Linked DNA regions of Homo sapiens: all the other regions are linked to region 3. Evidence: promoter capture Hi-C in human tissues and cell types (Jung and others, 2019). All regions are on one chromosome and are shown on one strand. The core of a region is centred on a gene start or on the middle of the fragment in contact, and the rest is flanking DNA. Distances in the headings are between cores, read along the strand shown. Region 1 overlaps ATP5MG (ATP synthase membrane subunit g). Region 2 overlaps UBE4A (ubiquitination factor E4A). Region 3 holds the start of PHLDB1 (pleckstrin homology like domain family B member 1). Region 4 overlaps KMT2A (lysine methyltransferase 2A).

What was found. The method cuts DNA at HindIII sites, captures the fragments that hold promoters and counts their contacts. A contact is called where the count stands out against the background at its distance.
Region 1: a fragment that was not itself captured here is called in contact with the fragment with the promoter of PHLDB1 in region 3 in 1 of the 25 tissues and cell types used here (pancreas).
Region 2: a fragment that was not itself captured here is called in contact with the fragment with the promoter of PHLDB1 in region 3 in 1 of the 25 tissues and cell types used here (liver).
Region 4: a fragment that was not itself captured here is called in contact with the fragment with the promoter of PHLDB1 in region 3 in 1 of the 25 tissues and cell types used here (hippocampus).

What each region holds. Positions count from the first base shown.
Region 1 is chr11:118,407,718-118,410,890 of GRCh38, reverse strand. It overlaps ATP5MG (ATP synthase membrane subunit g), which reads right to left. Exons shown (of 3, transcript NM_006476.5): 3 at 1,044-1,891. The coding sequence ends at 1,793. All of the region lies in intron 3 of LOC100131626 (a long non-coding RNA gene), which reads left to right. Among named protein-coding and RNA genes, the nearest start is that of ATP5MG, 7.7 kb to the right of the region's middle. The HindIII fragment of the contact is 5,814 bases long and covers 1-3,173 here.
Region 2 is chr11:118,382,107-118,385,147 of GRCh38, reverse strand. UBE4A (ubiquitination factor E4A) reads right to left here. Exons shown (of 20, transcript NM_001204077.2): 13 at 2,372-2,559; 14 at 413-513; 15 at 203-316. All of the region lies in intron 3 of LOC100131626 (a long non-coding RNA gene), which reads left to right. Among named protein-coding and RNA genes, the nearest start is that of ATP5MG, 18 kb to the left of the region's middle. The HindIII fragment of the contact is 4,714 bases long and covers 1-3,041 here.
Region 3 is chr11:118,605,775-118,609,062 of GRCh38, reverse strand. It overlaps PHLDB1 (pleckstrin homology like domain family B member 1), which reads right to left and starts at 1,448. Exons shown (of 23, transcript NM_001144758.3): 1 at 1,364-1,448. It overlaps LOC124902765 (a long non-coding RNA gene), which reads left to right and starts at 552. Exons shown (of 2, transcript XR_007062908.1): 1 at 552-940; 2 at 1,875-3,288. RefSeq lists enhancers at 1-277, 315-609 and silencers at 737-806, 867-956. The HindIII fragment of the contact is 15,479 bases long and covers 1-3,288 here.
Region 4 is chr11:118,442,224-118,445,494 of GRCh38, reverse strand. The region is part of intron 1 of KMT2A (lysine methyltransferase 2A); the gene reads right to left. Among named protein-coding and RNA genes, the nearest start is that of KMT2A, 7.4 kb to the right of the region's middle. The HindIII fragment of the contact is 5,184 bases long and covers 1-3,271 here.

The DNA of each region.
Region 1 (3,173 bases), core at 14-2,513, 200 kb after region 3:
ATAGTACTTCTCACATCTTATTACAGTAATTGCATGCCTAATTACCTGTCTTACCAGATCAAACTCTGTGAAACAGGTAACAGTCTTGTTCATGAATGTTTCTGCCATTTTAATTGTGCCTAGAACTTAGGAGGTGCACAATAAACACCGAGTTTGCCAATGCCAAACACTTGGCAGCACACATTCATTGAAAGCCTCAACAGTTCTGTTAGAAGATATTTGGGGTTGATGAGGACAAAAAAAAAAAAAAAAAAAAAGAGAAACAAGCCTGGTGAAGTCAAGTGGCCACTTCAAGGAGCTCACTGCTATTTTAACCTAAGAAAATTCCGTACATGCACTATTAGCCACAGGGGAGACCAGAGGTGTTGTGTATGGCAAAGCAGGAGGAAGTTGCAGTGAAGTGAGTAGTAAATGTTTATTTTGAGGACCTTCTGGTGTGACCGTGGCGTTAAAAACAATCACATTACATATCATTAATCAACTAGGTGTCTGTAGGTTTTAACTAGTACTAGCTGATCTCCTACCTTGTTTTTTTCTGGTTAATTTGAATAATCATGCACTGTATGAAAAAGAAACTGATTGCCTTTCTCATATCAGTCTTTTTGAGTACTTTTTGAAAAGAGGTCATTTCAGTTTTGACCACCTGTTTATTGCAGGAGTAAGTTAGGCATTACTTCACATTTTAGCAGCGTGGCAGTCTCTATGGAGACTTTCTTGCCTATCACTTAGATAAGCTGTGACGTTTATTAGGCTAAAATAGCAGTGTTCTAAATGCAGTGGGTAAATTTGGGATTGACCGGATAAAGGTTCAACACTATTAAAGGATTAATACTGTATTGTGAGCCATAATGCTTTTGTAATAAATATGCAACCACCTTTTGGTTATCATCAGTTGGTATTGCATGTTTTGCTGTGGCTGCAAGAATAACAGTGGATTTAGGAAAGTACCAATGAGTCAATTAAGGATTCTAAGATCCCGGGGAAAAGCTAAGGAATGATCAATCTCTCCTATATACCCAATAAAATCGCTCCAGAAGACAGACTATAGCAATCATTTCATTTATTTCAGGATATAATATACTATTTAGATCCAGGGAAGATGCTAAATTATAACCTTGTTTAAATATCTTTGGGGTATTTTGTTTTTGCAAAGGTAGTAAAACCAGACAAACGAATAACACACATAAAAATCAGATTTCACATGTATGGCTCTGTCCTACTGCTAAAGATGTTACAAAGAAACATACTTAGAATACCACCCTGTTCTCTCTTGGGGAGGCTATATTCAAGATGACAAGTACTCTAACATTTTTACAGACATAGATGTTGTCAATAGGGTCTTTCTGTGATTTTAGCAAAGAAAACAGTTGAAATGTTATTCTAACTACTGACATGATTCATCTCTATCACTTTGGCATATGGTACTACTATTTCTTCTACTTTGGCAAGTTATAGTTTTCCCAAGACCTAACCCTCACTGTTCTGGAAATAAAGCTTAAATATATATATTCCAAACCTTCAAATTAAAATGTTATCCCCATATATTCATGTACCAGGTTAATATTGCCACATATATCCTTTCCAATTGCGGGCTAAACAGACGTGTATTTAGGGTTGTTTAAAGACAACCCAGCTTAATATCAAGAGAAATTGTGACCTTTCATGGAGTATCTGATGGAGAAAACACTGAGTTTTGACAAATCTTATTTTATTCAGATAGCAGTCTGATCACACATGGTCCAACAACACTCAAATAATAAATCAAATATAATCAGATGTTAAAGATTGGTCTTCAAACATCATAGCCAATGATGCCCCGCTTGCCTATAATCTCTCCGACATAAAACCACATCAACACCTCAGTGGCCACCAAACCATTCAGCACAGCTTCCTGAAAAAAGAAGCATACATTTTAAGGTACCTTTTATATATATATATAATTATATATATATATATATATTTGAAACTATTCTTTTCCAGAATTAAGGAGACAAAGAACATAAAAGATGCTATTCAAACTAGAAGGCAGTTTTAGTCAAAGTTGAGAATTACTAACATTACTTCTCTTCAACTGCTGAGAACCCTTGAACTTTCAATTTTGTAAGGTAAGTAGTCAAAGCTTATATAAATTCTTTCAAAGCATTCTTTAAAGACCTGAACTGACTTAACCCTTTCATTATAAGTTTATGAGACACTTTATGAGCCCTAAAACAATCCACATCCTGGATATAGCTGGCGCATTTAGATAGGATGGCTATAGGAAGGCCGAGTCTCTGAATAGACATTTTTGTCTGGCAAAAGAAAATCTGCTGAAAGATGAAGTGCTGTCTTCCCCTTTAGACCTCATTTTTATTCATTCAGTATTTGACTTAACTCTGACTAAGTATCTGGTATTCATATCAACATTTTGTTGTCCCAAAGAGAAATATGCACATATGGCTCAGGAAAGCACTGTTATTAATACATGGAGCAATAATATGGATCTTGAAATTCTAGTTGAAAAAATAACTTTCCATAACAAAACTGGACCTTTTCCTTTTAGCACTTCTGGAAGTGAATTTTCCCCATCAAATTAGACCAGAAATTTATGGAAGTCTTCTGAAAAACAACCACACTTCCCAGGATGTAGGCTCTAAAACTAGCAATTGTTTAGGCTTTTTGTACTCTGTGCTTGGATCATGCAAATAAAATCCAAGTTCCAGTTCTTTTCTTTCCTTTTTCTTTTTTTTGAGATGGAGTCTCGCTCTGTCACCCAGGCTGGAGTGCAGTGGCGCGATCTCGGCTCACTGCAAGCTCCGCCTCCCAGGTTCTTGCCATTCTCCTGCCTCAGCCTCCCAAGTAGCTGGGACTACAGGCTTCCGCCACCACGCCCGGCTAAGTTTTTGTATTTTTAGTAGAGATGGGGTTTCACCGTGTTAGCCAGGATGGTCTTGATCTCCTGACCTCGTGATCTGCCCGCCTCGGCCTCCCAAAGTGCTGGGATTACAGGCGTGAGCCACTGCGCCCAGCCTTTTTTCCTTTTTTTAAGAGATAGGGTCTTACTCTGTCACCCAGGCAGTGACACAATCAGAGCTCACTGCCTCCTCTAACTCCTGGGCTCAAGCGATCCTCTCGCCTCAGCCTCCCAAGTAGTTGGGACTACAGGTACATGCCACCACACCTGGCAATTTTTT
Region 2 (3,041 bases), core at 326-2,825, 220 kb after region 3:
ATCTTGGTCTCTAATGGAATGAACTAGAAAGCTCTATAATGACAAGCTTGGTGGTACACTACTAATCACAAATTTTTGGTGTTCAAGTCTGGTACTAGGGGCATAAGGACTGCTCTATTATGATTAAAAGGTAAAATGTATGTACTGCTGATGATTTGATGGTATGGAGAAGTTAAATCTTTTTTTTTTTTTTTTTTTTTACCTGTATGGCTTCATCCAAAAGGAAGATGGCATCATTCATTAGCAGGTTAAGAAAGCGGAGGAAAAGTGGGGGATTCATGGCTTCTAAATTCTTAGAGGCATAGTCAGCCAAATCCTGTAAGTCCCAGCCCACAAGAAAACCATTTTAGTACTGAATTACAACTCATTAGGGCTTATATAAAGCAACAGGTTTCATCAAAAACTCTCTCACCTTAATGCTCTCCCGATAGGTATCTGTCCCCCACATGTATCTTAGGATAGGATACATGGGACGGCGGTAATTAAACTTCTGTTCAAATTGATGGGGGTCTCCTGGAGTAAGGCAAGAGCGAAATATCAGCAAAGGCGGTGCCATAAGAGGAAGAGTTTATGCTTATGTGTAGCCATTTGCTTTGTAGTCATTTGCTTTTGAGTGTGTTAAGGCTACTAACAAAATCTGCCCTGGAGTTTCTAAAGGCCTAGAGTTATCGCCAAGTGTTTGCTCATTTCCTTACTGATGAAGTAAGGGGGAGACAGAGATAAAGGATACCTTACTCTGCAAGAGACAAGTACCAAGCTGTAAAATAAAAGTTAAGGGAAACAAATGTTTCCATATCCAAACATGAGTACTTCTCAGGCTTTAAATGAGGGCTCAGGGCTGGCCATTATGGCAGTGAAAGCCATGTGCAGGACGGGACACTAAGCAATTCCCACATTCTTCACAGACAATATCCCAAACTGTGTAGCCAACAGGTTCTTGATTACTCTGAAAAATCAGGTCAGGAGCTAAAAATCTGAGGCTTATACTGCTTTTGAAATACCAAAGGTATTACTAGAGCTCCACAGGCTGGGTCATAATAAAGGAAGAGTGTAGGATTTGGAGTCAAAAGACCTACGTTTTCATTCTGGCTCTGCTTAATCTAAGTCTCTTAATCTTCTTCAGCTTCCACTTCCTCAGAAATAAAACAGAAATTGTACTCCATTACAACACTTTGGTTGTATGGTCACATAACGAGATAACTGCAATGATTTATTATACAATTTCTTATGTATTATAAAGATTTACATGCATTATTTCACTTAATCATCACTTTGACCCATTTTATAGATGAGGAAACTAAGGTTGATAGGTGAGCGAATTAAAAAAAACCAGAATCCAAATATGGAAAGGCGGCCAGTAAAATGTTAAATGCCTCTTTAAATGTTAGTTGTATTTATCATTGGATGGTAGATATCCCTTTAAAAAATGGTCTTCAACAACTTCTTAACATATCTTATTTACTGATTGAGACAGGGTACTGTTTAAACAAACACAGGGGCTCAGGGTTAGATAGAGAGGGAATGTTGCCTGCTGGTTTTTTTTTTTTTTTTTTTTTTTTGAGAGGGATTTCTTGCTCTGTCATCCAGGCTGGAGTGGTGCGATCTCAGCTCACTGCCACCTCTGCCTCCCGAATTCAAGCAATTCTCGTGCCTCTGCCTCCTAAGTAGCTGGGATTACAGGCACCTGCCACCATGCCTGGGTAATTTTTGTATTTTTGTAGAGAATGGGTTTCACCATGTTGGCCAGGCTGGTCTCAAACTCAGGAGCTCAAGTGATCTGCCTACTTTGGCCTCCCAAAACGCTGGGATTACAAGCATGAGCCACTGTGCCTGTCCGCCTGCTGGTATTTTTAATCGAACCATTAGACTGTTGGAGAGTTAGATAGTCTGGTTAAGATAAAAGAATCTCTCAACCAATACACTGCCTCTTTATGCACTATTCTGTAATTTTAAGGCAGAGAAATATAAAGACCCAAATAGTCTAATTTGAGTCTGATTTGATGATGCAACATAATAAGGGTGTTGAATATGTAGATTTCTTTAGGTGACACAGACCTGATTCTACCACTTGGTAGTTTGTTATGACATGGACAAACTGATCTTTTGGGCAGTCATGTCTTCATATGTAAAACAAGAATAATTAAAAAATAAAAAATAAATAAAACAGGGATAATAGAGTGAAACTTTTCCAATGGTGACAATGGGATAATGTTAAAAAAAAAAAAAAAGCACTTATCATCAAGCCTGGCATATAGTAGGTATTCAATAAGTAATGGCTTGACATTTCTTTGATATCCAAATACGGATCAAACTATGAAACTCCACTGGTATCAGCTTCCCAGTTCTGGGCTCAGCTTCATGACTGCTTTACCTGTAAATTCGATGTCCACAAAAACCTTGATTAGAGCCTCTGCAAGTTGGGGTGCATACTGAAAGTTGCAGAACACACGTTTCCGGTGGAACACACTGGATACCAAGGGATTTGGGGTCTGATCCAGGTGGGGCATCACTGCTTCCAACACCTCTGCTAGTTTGGCCCTCAGGTGGGGATTCTTCATTCTGCAAAATGGGCAAAAAGCAAGATGAGCAGATAAGCTTAACTCCAAATTTATGACTCTGTTCTCTCCACATAAGAATCAAAATCCACCCTAAACCATATTACAGGAAAAAAAAGGATCCACTTCTGCAGTTTTAAGTTTGTCAGTTTCTTGGTGCGGCTGGGCGGGGGGTGGGGTGGTGATGCAGGGTACATCATTTAACTCTTGAGTTGACAGCTTACCAAATATGACGGTGAGCACTTAAGTTTCTATTGAATGCTTAGCCATTGTTTACTTCTCTGTAATAATGCATTATTTACTGCTTCCTATTCTCTGACAGTTTCATGTGGAATAAACTTGCCTTTTCAAGCTTTCTGAGGGTAAAGACTAGAATATAATTATGCTACATTACCCATGACGCATACAGTGTATGCATAATACTTGTTGACTTATGACTTCTCATTAGGTATGCTCAGCTCAGTGAAGAAATGGCTTCTCTCTACT
Region 3 (3,288 bases), core at 199-2,698:
TCGTGTGTGAGCTGGGGCCTCGTGTTTGACTGGGGTGTGTGTGTGAGAGCTGGGGCTGCGTGTGTGAGCTGGGCTTCGTGTGTGAGCTGGGGCCTCATGTGTGACGGGTACGTGTGTGAGCTGGGTTGTGTGTGTGACTGGGGTGCGTGTGTGAGGTAGGCTGTGTGACTGGGGTGCATGTGTGAGCTGGGGCGCGTGTAAGCGGGGCTGCGGGTGTGAGGGGCTGCGTGAGCGCGGGGCGCTTTCCTGTGAGGCGTAAGGCATGGAGTGCGTGGGAAGGCCTCGGCGTGTGGGCGGGTCCGGGTGTGTCTGGGTGGCGTGACGCAGGGACGTAGGTGTGCGAAGTGTCGCGGAGGCGTGCGTGTGTGCCGCGTGGGAGCCCGGCGTGGTGGGGCGCCTGCGTTTGCGTTTGACGGCTGGGGGGTGAGCCCGCCGCCCGATGAGTCAGCCTCGGGAGGCTCCAGGACCGCTGAGCTAACGGCCCAGAATGCAGCCCCGCCCCAGAGCCGTGGGTCCCCGGCAGGGCTGTGCGGTCGCCCGGCCAAGTCCCCACTCGAGCCTGCCTCGGCGGAAGCGCTAGCGGGCGACTCGGCCACCCTGCGCCGGCGCCCCTACCCAGCCGCCCGCCCGCACTTCCCTATCCCGGGGGAGCCCGGATGACTTGGGTCAGCCTCCGCTCGGGGAACTCCGCTAGGGATTCCAATAGGGACCGCGCGGGCGTGGCAAGGCGCCCCAGGCGGCCTCCCCGGCCCCCGAGGACGTGGGGCCTTGGGGAGTGCCTGGGAGGCCCCAGGCGGGCTTCCCATCTCCTGGACACCCCCAGGCAGCCCTCCTAGACGCTCAAGACTCTGAGCCGGACTCCGAATCCCTTCCTGGTCCATCAAGGCGGCCGGCCTGGGGACAGGCGGGGAGACGTCACAGGAGATACCCCCGCCCCAAGGTCCTGCTGTGGGCGGAGAGGGGGAGGTGTGGGGCGCTGGAGGACGAAAACCCGCGCGCGCGCTCGCCGCCCGATACCCCGCGAGTGTCCGCCCGGCCGCCTGGGTGCCGGCGGGAGAGTCTGGATAGGGCCAGGATCAGAGTTTCTCCAAGGGGGGGAGAGCGTCACGGCCCCCTCTGGCGGTGGCGTTGGCAGCGGCCGAGGAAGGCAAAAGCAAGAGGCTCACAGGAAAACTCCCCATAACGCTCCTTTCGCCCCCACGCACTCACCTGGGGTGCCCTCTCTCCCCCACGGGTTTCTGCCGAGCTCCCTAGCCTAGAGCTGATCTCAGGGCTCTCGCCAGGCCCCGGGGACTTCCCCTTATCCAGTCCTAGCACCGCAGCGAATGGGACCCGCAAGTGTAGTGGGACGGGGCGCTCTTACCTAGAGGTGGGGGGGGGGCAGGGAGACACTGGTCCCTTAGCCTGGCTCGGCTCGGTCGCGGTGGCCTCAGGCTTAGGAGGACACCGTTGCTTTTCCCCGGGAGCTCGCTAAGTAGGAGGAGAGCGAGCCTGTCCCGCCCCCCTCCCGCCAGTCCCCGCCCCCGTCCCCCGTCCCGTCCGCCTGGCCAGCCAAAGAAGACGCCCTTGTGGGGCTGGAGCCCAAGGTCCCCCCACCCACCCTTTCCCACAGCAGCACCTCCCCCAGCCTGCACAGCGCCCGCTTTGTTCATCTTTGCAGCTGGGCTCTCCACCATCACCACCACCACCACCACCACCACCACCACCACCACCACCACCACCACCACCACCACACATCCCCCTCTCCTCCCACCCTGCCCTCCCGACTCTCCTAGACCACCCTCCACTCCCAGGCTTTAACACGCTTTTGAGAGGGTGTTTTTGACAATCCGTTCTCCCTCCCCCAAACTCTCCCCTCTTTCTTTTTGCCTTAGATGCCTGAAACCTCCACGGGCTCCCACTGAACCTCCCAAATCGAAGCCCCTACAACATGCTCTCAACATCTCCAGAACATCTACTGAGGGTACCCAGGTCTTCTCCCTGTCACCTCCTCCCCTCGCCCTATTCCAAGCCCCACCATGAAGAGCTGTAAATGACATTGATAGCCACGCACATCAGGCTTCACAGACTTTCTTAAGGATAGGCACAAGAAGACTCGTTAAAGTGTCATGCAAACTCCAAAGCACAGGAAAACCGAATGGAATTATCATCTTGCCCCCATGGAGCTCCACACCCCTCCACCCCGACAGACTTGCTGGATTACAGATTGGGAGATGGAGGCAGGCTATAGACATACAATTGAGCACACCAACCTGTAGTAGGAGTGGGAGTTAATAAGGAAGAGAAGGAGGCACTAAACACCTAAAAGCAGCCCCCAAATTGAGCTAGGTTGAAGTCATTCTCCATCTCAACCTCCACTCCGAAATCCAACGCTGACAGTGGATCCTTACCTTGCAAAGCCAGCTCTTGGTCCAGGAGACTGGCTGGGGAGGCCCTAGGGAGCTGAACTCAGCTGGACTGGACTTCTTTGACCTGCACTAGAGGGACCCTGGAGACTCTTCTTCACTGAAGGAAGGAGCAGAAAGCCTGTAAGTCTGGTCTAAATTCCAGCTGGGGTGGATAGCAAAAAATAATTTATCCTCTTTGAGATGGACAAGTGCTGTTCTAATTCAATGAGTTTAGTTTGTGCCGTCTCTCCCTAACCCAGGAACAGCAGGAGGCTGAACTACAGGAATCTCTGGTCACTCATTGACAGGGCTGGCCTTAGCAGGGGACCCCCCACGGCTGGAGACTGAAGCTGACCGGGGCCAAGCAGCAGACAAGGAGGGGGAGGGGAGAGGCCGCCCTTTGCTGCCACCTGCTATAGCTAATGGAGGTGGAACACTCAAGATCCAGAATATGCTGTGGGTACCAGGAAGTCCTAGGATTTGAGGAGCGAGACTCTAGTTTTTCCTCTCTTCATACTGTTTGAAGTCATGAAAGTAATTCTGATGAACCTTCATGAGGCAGATCACAACAGTAATATTCAGGCTATTTGGGTATGTAAAAAAAGGAAGAAGGAAAAAACCCAAACTGTTGTATCCCATGTGCCAAGACCCAGCACTGAGGGGAGGGGTCCAGATTGCAGTACCTCAGAGGCTTTTCACTTCATTCTGTTTCACGGCCCCCAGCTCCTCTTTACTGTACTGGGCAGGAGGAATTTCAGGGAATAATCAAGCCTGCCATGGAGGCAGTGGATGCTGAGGCAGAGGGTCGAAACAGCACCCAACTTCTCTCACTGACCTCCCAACACAGGGACCAGCTGACCCTATGATAAAGGCGCTGTGCAATGTGTCCTCTCCCCTGCTG
Region 4 (3,271 bases), core at 619-3,118, 160 kb after region 3:
GTCTGAACCTGGAGCCCAAGAACCCTGAAGAGCCTCAGAGCTGTTATAAGGAACGACCAAGTGCCTCCTCATAAAAATATCAGGAACACTAGTTATAGAGACAACAGGTAGCAACCCCATTATAGCTGCCTTGGCCTGATAATTAGCAACTCATGGAGGCACTGTGTTCCTCGGTATCTTACTTGCCTATTTACCATCTTGTTCTCTTTCTTCTTTTTTGCCTTATCTTTAATATGCTTTAGTTGGACACTAATGTTGTTACCAAGACGGGTGGCTGGCCTTCAATTTGGTTCCACCTAGTTTATAGAAGAACTTGACACTCAGACTAATATCAAGAACATTCTAAGATTATAGCACTCAAATAGGTGTATGTATGCATACATATACAGGTATAACTTAATGTAATAAAAACCAGTTATTTTGATGAAAAAAAAAGATTATAACCCTGCTCTCCTTTCAATCTCTTGGTTCTAACAATTAGGGCTTCCTATGTGCCAGGCAAAATGCTAAGTGCTTACATGCATGATCTCACTTAAGCCTCACAATGAGACTATGAAGCATGAGTACCTCTCAGTTACAAATGAAGAAACAGAGGTATGGAGAGGTTCAAAAACTTTTCTGGTTGGGTGCAGTGCCTCACATTTGTAATCCCAACACTTTGGGAGGCTGAGGTAGGGGGACCACTTGAGGCCAGGAGTTCAAGACCAACCTGGGCAACATGGTGAGACTCCCATCTCTACAACAAATAAAACAATTAGCTGAGTGTGGTGGTGCATGCCTGTAGTCCCAGCTACTTAGGAGGCTGAGACAAGAGGATTGCTTGAGCCCTGGAGGTTGAGGCTGAAATGAAATGTTTGTGCCATTACACTCTAGCCTAGGCAACAAAGCAAGATCCTGTCTCAAACAAACCAAACAAAACACAAAAAAAACTTTTTCAAGATGGCTGAGCTTAGATTTGAACTCAGGCAGTTTAAATCCAGAGCCCATGGTCTTAACAACTCTTAATTACTATGCTAAACGATCTCACACCACTACAGATTAGATTATGAGATTCTCCCTTTCTTCTGTAAAGGTATTTATATATGCACAAATAAAAAATCCTAGCCAAAGAGATTACAAAAGGATTTCCTCATTAGCTAAGCTTAAAGAGATGTTATCCACAAGGTTTTACTGCTTATAATTAAAGGCAATAATCTAGGGACAATGTTTGTGTTTGATCTAAAAAGTGGTCAATCCTCATGGATGGACAGAAGTTGAATATGGGCATGTGTAAATATTTCTTTCTCTAGGTGTAGGATATTTATTAGAGATAAGAATTAACTTTTCCCTAGTGTTTAGAACTGAGATAGTATAAAGGACAGCCTAAAGAAAAAACTATTCTCCAAAACCCTTCTCACAAGTAATATCACTCTCCTAATTCAAGACAGAAAGCTACCATTACCTTGATGCTGTAAAATAAGAATGAAACAATGATGCTTCAGCAAAGCATAGATAATACAAGTGGATCTCTCTAAAACAGTATGAATGTTAGAAAGATTCATATCTTTTGTTGCTGAAAGACATCAAAACATCTATACCCAAACATCCCAACAAAACACAAAACCAGAAATGCAAGAAAATGGATAAAACACTATATACGGAAGAAACTCCAGCTCCTGAAATAAATGCTACTGGACCGATGCTGCCCACTGGTACTTCACAGGGTACTGCTGCAGCAATAATTGAAGGTAAGATATCTGGGGAAATCCCTTCAGTCTATTTGTCAAATAGAAAAACAACTACTCATTTCAAGGGAAGGGGAATTTTCATACACTGCACACAAAACTGCCAACTAACTCTTATATCTTTGTTGTTTCCTTAAAACTAAAACTCATTAGGGCAATACATTCAATTCAACATCTAAAAGTTAAACCAAGCTTGGCCTCTTAGAAGTTTTGGACTAATCCTTCAAGGGGATTTATATCATCCACAACAATTACAAATCACGTAACAAAATTCTTCTTTCAAATGTCTTAAGTCTTTAGAAGCGAATGTTTGGCAGCAGCTACAGTCTCATGGTTGGCTTCCCCTGGTGTGTAACCTGACAAGGTAAAAAACTCATTGAAATATTTAACAGTGGTGGTATGGATTTCTTTGGATAGGTCAAGAAAAGCGGCTCATCATTTTAAAAACATAAAGAACCATTTTATGGGAAGTCATTCCCTCAGTCCAAGTGTCTCTGTATTTCCTCAGGGTTTTTGCAGAGACTTTATTGAGGGGCAAAATGAAAAGGCTAACAAAAGGACCCCTTTTTCCTCCCTATTCCCAGCATAATCTACCTCAGCCACAGGGCCAGTAGCATCCACACTGTCATAAATGCCAGCAATTAGAGAATTAGGCCATAAAACCACCCACTCAGGTATAAGAGTGCAGGCCTCCAGCTTTATTTAATGCATGCCATAAAAGATCCTGTACTTCCTTCTCCCAGGCCTTCTTCAACAACCAATGAAATGACAATAACAACAACAAAAATAGCCCTTTGTCTGCGTAACCTCATACTGATGTGATCAATGAAGCCATCTGGGTCCAGGTAAAGGACTTAAGATTCCTTTTTCTTAATAAAAGATAGCATTTTCTCTAGCATGCCACATGTAGATCTAGTAAAGAACATACTGTATTTTGAATACGAAGGTCCTGGAAACTAAAGTCAAACTACTTTTTCCAGAAAAGCTATTTTATCTTATTCTGAAAATACTCTAGAAGCCTAGACAATTCCTGAAAATCTCAAGAAATAGTGGAGCCTACAAGGGTATTCTTAATTAACTCAACAATTTCCAGAACCTCCTAAAGTCTTTCTAATCAAAAGTTAACTCAGATCTGAAAGCTAACTTTAATTCAGTCTGTGTCTCAAAGCCGATACAACTTAGGAGCAATCAATAATTTCATCTGATTGTCTTGTCTTCAACAACCTCAGAGTCCACAAAAATCACGAGTCTGAGATTTACTCCACGACAATATTTTACTCATCAAGTTTCATAAACCAGTCTAGATAAGATCCAAGGAAATACTTTGTAACAGTGAACTCTGTGGCATCCTCTTTCCTACTAGTGCCTACAGGGTTAAGAATCTGATTAAAATGTAGGTACATCATGCCAGACTCATTAGTAATTTAACCTTTCTTAATCCCTGAAAATAACATATGCAAACAAAGGAAGGTCCCATCCCAGCAATCCTCGAATAAATTCCTCCCAAAGTAGTGATAGTCACAAAGCTTCCCCCTTCTCAAAGGTCT